Linked DNA regions of Homo sapiens: region 1 is linked to region 2. Evidence: promoter capture Hi-C in human tissues and cell types (Jung and others, 2019). All regions are on one chromosome and are shown on one strand. The core of a region is centred on a gene start or on the middle of the fragment in contact, and the rest is flanking DNA. Distances in the headings are between cores, read along the strand shown.

Region 1 (3,304 bases), core at 46-2,545, 120 kb after region 2:
AAATGAGTTGTTAAAAACAGCAGTTTCTTACCAGGAAGGGAGCTGAAGCTTGGTCAGCTTTAAGGGGCCTTAGAAAATAGGGTTTTGGCCTAGGTAACCAGGCTGAGATGTGGTTCAAAATTTTCCCTAAAATTGCCATCATGGGTGCATGCTTGCTCATCCCCAGGGTGGCCACTGGGCACAGCCATGGGTTTACTAATGGGAATATGGAAAAAAGGGCTGCCCATTATCAGTGGACTTTGGTGGAAAGAGATATGTGTACCTCTGGAGTTAATCTTTACAATGTGTCAAAAGGTTTGGAGAACATTGATCAAGGAAACATTTTTCTGATTGATGAATAAACTAACTCTCAGTTATGGTCATCTACCCCTGCTAGTAGGTTACACAGTGTATTATATAGTACATGCAGTGTGTTATATAAAATAAAAAAAAAACCCAGACAGTAATTGCAATGAATCGACCATATACATCTGTCTCTTGTGTGTCATATCTGTGTTTTTTGTCCCTTGGATTTGGATTGTGATTTCCCCATCCCCAGTATTTAGGATACAGAGTGTTTTTTACTTGGATTGACCAGCTGTTTGTTTGCTTACTTTTTTCCCATTGCCAAAGTTAGTCATTTTTAAAATTATGCTTTGAGTTCCTCTTAATATTTCTCATGCTTCTAGCTTGGGATGACTTTACTTCAGTCTGCCTTATAGCTGTGATCATTTGATGGTCTAGGACTTTTTGAGCCATCTGGTTTACTGGAATTGGAATGATTTGGGCTATCACATGGTTTGTTGACACTACTTTAACCCATTTGATTAACCAATTGAAATAGCCCACTGGAATTTAAATAACTCTTCTTATTAACTGTTACCCTTAACATGTAATGATCTTTCATTTTTCAGGATGTAAACAGTCTTCGACTTTCTCTTACGGATAATCAGATTGTCAGTAAAGAATTTCAAGCTTTGATTGTGAAGCATTTAGATGAAAGCCATCTTTTAAAAGGTATATGCATTATCTAGTGGTGATAGTTCACGAGTTGACCAATGATTAGCTTGTGAGAAACTAGGGTTTAGCCTCTCATTCATTTGCTCATGGAAATTTCTTTTTTCTTTTTTTTTTTTTTTGAGACAGTCTAGTTCCTAGGCTGGAGTGCCAGTGGTGCTGTCTTGGCTCACTGCAACCTCTGCCTTACAAGTAGCTAGGACTACAGGCACGCACCACCACACCCGGCTAGTTTTTGTATTTTTAGTAGAGACAAGATTTCACTATTTCACCATGTTGGCCAGGCTGGTGTCAAACTCCTGGCCTTAAGTGATCTGCCTGCCAAGTGTGAGCCATCACGCCGGGCCATTTCTTACTTTTTTTCTAAAATAAATTTTTAAGAAATTTAAAATTTAAAATTCAAAAAATGTGTGTGTTGCTAAAACCTCTGAAATTTGGAAAGTTCAGGGATTATATGAAACTAACAGTAAAGTAGGGCCAGGCACAGTGGCTCAAGCCTGTGATCCCAGCACTTTGGGACATCCAAAGTGGGAGGATTGCTTGAGCCTAGGATAGGAGTTCAAGACCAGCTTGGGCAACACAGGGAGACGTCGATCTCTACAAAACATTTTTAAAAAAATTAGCCCGGTGTGGTGGCACATGCCTGTAATCCCAGCTACTCAGGAGGCTGAGGCAGGAGGATCACTTGAACCCAGGAGGTCAAGGCTACAGTGATCCCTGATTACACTGCTACACTCCAGCCTGGGTGAGAGCAAGACCCTGTCTCAAAAAAAAAAAAAAAAAAAAGAAAAGAAAAAAGATATTTTTAAAGCTCAGCTATATTTTGATGTGGAATTTGATATGTTTGGAATATCAGCCATATAAAATGGATAAGGCATTAATTTGATACTCCTTACCTTCCCATTTGTGTTACTGAGTTTCTACAATCATACATTTTTTTTCTGTGTTTTTTAGATTATCAGACATAGTATTTTTGTTGGGGTTCCTGAATTTGATTCCTCTAAAACTACACAGGACAGTGAGTGAGGTCTTGATGAATTGTCTAATACTACTTTGGTCCGATACAAAATAAAAAGTTTAAATTTTCTCATAGCTTTTCTGAAATGTCAGTCATCTTATGTTTGTAGTGATTCTTTTAATGTTTACTTTTGCGTTTTTTTAAAAAAGACTTAGGAAAAGATTGTCCTGGATGATGTTGCTATTGGGAGATAATGCAAATTGCTCTAAGATTTTTTTTTTTTTTTTTTTTTTAAGGTGACAAAAACTTAGTTGGTTCAGAAGTAAAAATTTATAGCTTGGACCCATCTACTCAGTGGTTTTCAGCAACCGTTATAAATGGAAACCCAGCATCAAAAACTCTTCAAGTCAACTGTGAGGAGGTAAAGACAACAATAACTCTTTGTAAGATAACTCGACAAAGCATGATAACTATACAAAGCATTTATGATTTTCTAGGCACTAAATACCTTTATTATTTTATAGGGTAGAAATAATTACAGTTGTTTTAAAAAGAAATTATTCATAAGAAGCTCCTATTGTTATGTTAATGAACCTGATTTTCAGTATGTTCTTGAGCATTTTTTATTTTCCGGTATCTTTGTTTCATTTATTTTTAAGATTCCAGCACTGAAAATTGTTGATCCGTCACTGATTCATGTTGAAGTTGTACACGATAACCTTGTGACATGTGGTAAGATATGTTATTAAAATCTTTCTTCTCCTTCCTCCTTTCCTCCGTTCTTCTCACATTAAGAGAAACAGGGAAGCCAACTTAACCTATTTTTAAATATTTTAGGTAATTCTGCAAGAATTGGAGCTGTAAAACGCAAGTCTTCTGAGAATAATGGAACCCTGGTTTCCAAACAAGCAAAATCTTGCTCTGAGGTAACCTTTATTTATGTCACTTGTGTAAAGCTTTCCTTAACTCCAACATTGCATGGCTAGTTTTTATTTTTTATTATTTATTTAATTATTTTTATTTTTTTAGAGATAGGATCTCACTCTGTCACTCAGACTGGAGTGCAGTGGTGCAACCAGAGCTTACTGCAGCCTTGAACTCCTGCCTCCATAGTAGCTGGGACTGCAGGCATGTGTCATGCATGACACCTGGCTAATTTTTGTGTTTTTTGTAGAGACAGGGTCTTGGTATGTTGACCAGACTGGTCTTGAATTCCTGGGCTCAAGCGATCCTCCCGCCTCAGCTTCCCAAACTGCTGAGATTACAGTCATGAGTGAGCTACTGCCCCTGGCTGCGTGGCAAATTTTTTTAGTGTTATATTGCTGTCTGCTCTTCTTTGCTAGTTCCAGA
Region 2 (3,152 bases), core at 349-2,848:
GCCCCACCCTGAGGGCTTCCCAGAAGCCACTGGCAATATCGATCCCAGAGAGGAAACACCACCCTGAAGGCAAGACAGTGTTGGTCAGGCATGAGGCTGGGCAAGGCGTGTCAGCCACTTTCCTGTATTATTCATGTCGGCTCTGCCAGCAGAAATCTTCTAAATATTTAACATGCCACCTCAAGGTGCAGCGCAAACACCCCGCAGTCAGGAACAGCTGTGGAGAGGCCTTCACGGAATGACTTGGGGGCTGAGAGGCACAGACACTGGCTTTGGGAGGAAAGCCCTGAATGGTGGCGGGAGACAATGCTGAGATCCACTTCGGAAGGGAAAATCAGTAAAGAAGGGAAGGGAGATGGGTGGTGTTTCAAAACGTGGGGAGTGATGGTGCACAATCACTGGGGTCCAGAGCCCCGTGTTCTCAGACAAAGAAAAAGCCCGAGGTGCCTGCCACCCTCCTCCCCGCCTTAGACTCCCCACACCCATTTCAGCCCCTGCTAGCTACAGCAGGTGGCAAATCTGTTCTGACTCAGGCCAGGATGGTTAGGGAAGAACAGGGACTTGGAACAGCCACGTCTATCTCCAAAGGAGAATAAATCCACCGGGGAAGCTCTTCAAACGCCTACAGGTCCTGGGGCTTGAAGGAGAAAATCGGCCCCCACGCCCACCCCCAATGACTTCACACAGACCTCACCCTAGATGACTCTGCGCTCTCCTGCAAGGCCTGGGAGGTGTCATCGCCACCATGCGGGTGGCTGTCACTTGAAAATTTCCCGTGCATTCCTGGAGGTACCTGCCCCTGTCTCTCAATCCCCTGCAAAAGGAGTCGGAGCCGGGGGCTCCAGGCGTTTACTCCAAGATTCACATGCGTCTTCCCATGTCCCAGCTGCCTTTGCCGCTGTCGATGCAGACACCTAAAAAGGAGGATTTTTCCAACCCCACTGGGAGCCCCGCCTCTGCCTCTCCACCCGTTCCGCGCTGACCCTCCAGGCAGCGCCCCTGGTTCGTCTGCGCTGTCCTTTCCACCTGACAAAAGCTGGGGCGGCGGGGCGCGGCGCCGGGCGACCTCACATTTCTGCCAAAGGAGAGAGACGCGTGTCCGCGGTGCGCCCATTCGGGGCCTCTGCAAATCGACCGAGCTGAGGAACAAAGCGGCCAGCGCGCGGCGAGACGCAGCCCCCACGGAACCCCCGAGCGCCCCAGCCCTCGCCGTCCCGGCCCAGCCCCCCGCAAGCGGCCGCCGGCGCCGGCTGCCTCCTGGGCAGCAGCCGCGTCCTGCGCCGCCCGTCCGCCCGCAGGCGTCCTCGGCGGCTACTGTACCTGCTAAATTTAGCTGCGCCGGGTATTAATAGCCCGAGCCACTGGGACCGGGCGCTGTAGGGGCGCGCGCAGCCCGGGGCCGGGGGCGGGGAGGGAGGGGACGGAGGGGCGCGGGGGAGAAGGCCACTTACACCACCAGCCTGGAGATGATCCATGACACCATGGCGGGCAGGCGGGCGGGCGAGGCCCGGGCGGCGCGGCTCGGCTAGGCTGCGGGCGGCGCGGGCTGCTGCGGCGTTCCCGGAACGTCAGTCAGCTCACGGCAGCCGCCGCCAGACTGAGCGCGCCCGCCGCCCTGCCCGGCGTTCGCGCGTTGGCGCAGCCGCGGCACGTTCTGGCGGCGGCGGCGGCGGCCCCAGCCCCCCGGGGCTCGGCGGGCCCGCAGCGATTGGGCGGTGAGCTGGTCAGGGCACCCGCGGGCCCGCCCCGTCCCGCTCGCCCTGGCCCCCGGCTGAAGGCGGGCGCGTCCTGCGCGCTCCCCGGGGCACCGGCCCCGCCAAAGGAACCCTGCAGCGGCCCCGTTTGCAGGGCAGGGACCCGGGTGCTGCCCCACCCTCAGCGTTCCAGCGGAGAAACTGAAGTCCGAACCTGAACCTCGGGAATCTGTCTGCACCTGTCTAGGTGGGATGCTGTCATCCCTCATTCAGCTAGTGCGTTAGCCTCATAAAGGGTTTACCTGGATCCAGACCTAACCTCTTCAGTCTGTCCGTTGCTCAGCACTTTCTGCATAAGAAACAAACCTGGGCGCTTGCCTCCCTACTTAAAATTCTACAGAGTCCCTATATGATCGTGGTACCTGCCTAGAACCGTGTTGCCAAGACCATTCCCCCAAATAGTCCTCTAGCTCTTTTCCCTCCAGGCATCTTGGACTCAAATATTTGCTGTTTCTTCTTCCCTGTCAGTACACGCCACGCCTCATCGTCCTGCCTTGGTTTGATTCAGCTCCTTCTTCTAGGCTGGGCTGAAGGGCTACTTCTTCCTAGGGAAGGCCTTTCCTTGGGGGCTGCTCCGGGCCCTAGGAGGAGACTAGAAGCTGCGACTGCTTAGCACCAGTGCCCCGCTGAGCCACGTTGAACTCTTAGGCAAAAGGGAACTTGTGCACCCTATATAAACGTTTTTATGTATTTTTTAAAATACCGTATTAAATATTATGGTGGTTTTTTTTGTTGTTGTTGTTTTTTTATGAGACAGAGTCTCGCTCTGGGGTGCAGTGGCGCGATCTCGGCTCACTGCAAGCTCCGCCTCCCGGGTTCAAGCGATTCTTCTGCCTCAGCCTCATGAGTAGCTGAGATTACAGGAGTGCGCCACCACGCCCAGCTAATTTTTGTATTTTTAGTAGAGACGGGGTTTCACCATGTTGTCCAGGCTGGTCTCAAACTCCTGACCTCGTGATCCGCCCGCCTTGGCCTCCCAAAGTGCTGGGATTACAGGAGTGAGCCACCTATTATGTATTTTAGTTGCTGAATTTTATGGCACCTCTTAAATGTTGCACCCTCACTGAGCGCCTCACTCTGCTCACCCTAGTCCCGGCCGCAGATAGTACATTATTCTGTTACACTGGAAACGCTTTGTCCTCTACTCCTAGGCTCTGCTGCTGCTTTTCCCACCCTCCAATAGCTTAGGTTCTGCGTGGTGCTCCCAGCGCCCTGTCCTTTGCTGATGATGGTGTCATGTATAATTCAGTGTCAGATGTGAGAAGCGCAGGAGACAGCTTAGTACTCTCAGATGTAGCAGAATCTGTGCGTGCGTGTGCCTGATATAGTCAGAAGAAAGACTTCACGGACAACAAAGGGACTGCAGATGAGACATGCTCTCATATCTCAGGTCTCCAA

What was found. Contacts are between HindIII fragments. The study calls those that stand out against the background at their distance.
Region 1: a contact is called between a fragment that was not itself captured here and the fragment with the promoter of REEP1 in region 2, in 2 of the 25 tissues and cell types used here (aorta and dorsolateral prefrontal cortex).

What each region holds. Positions count from the first base shown.
Region 1 is chr2:86,454,192-86,457,495 of GRCh38, forward strand. KDM3A (lysine demethylase 3A) reads left to right here. Exons shown (of 26, transcript NM_018433.6): 5 at 894-996; 6 at 2,251-2,375; 7 at 2,614-2,686; 8 at 2,792-2,880. Among named protein-coding and RNA genes, the nearest start is that of KDM3A, 14 kb to the left of the region's middle. The HindIII fragment of the contact is 4,436 bases long and covers 1-3,304 here.
Region 2 is chr2:86,336,028-86,339,179 of GRCh38, forward strand. It overlaps REEP1 (receptor accessory protein 1), which reads right to left and starts at 1,599. Exons shown (of 9, transcript NM_001371279.1): 1 at 1,452-1,599. The coding sequence starts at 1,483. The HindIII fragment of the contact is 14,274 bases long and covers 1-3,152 here.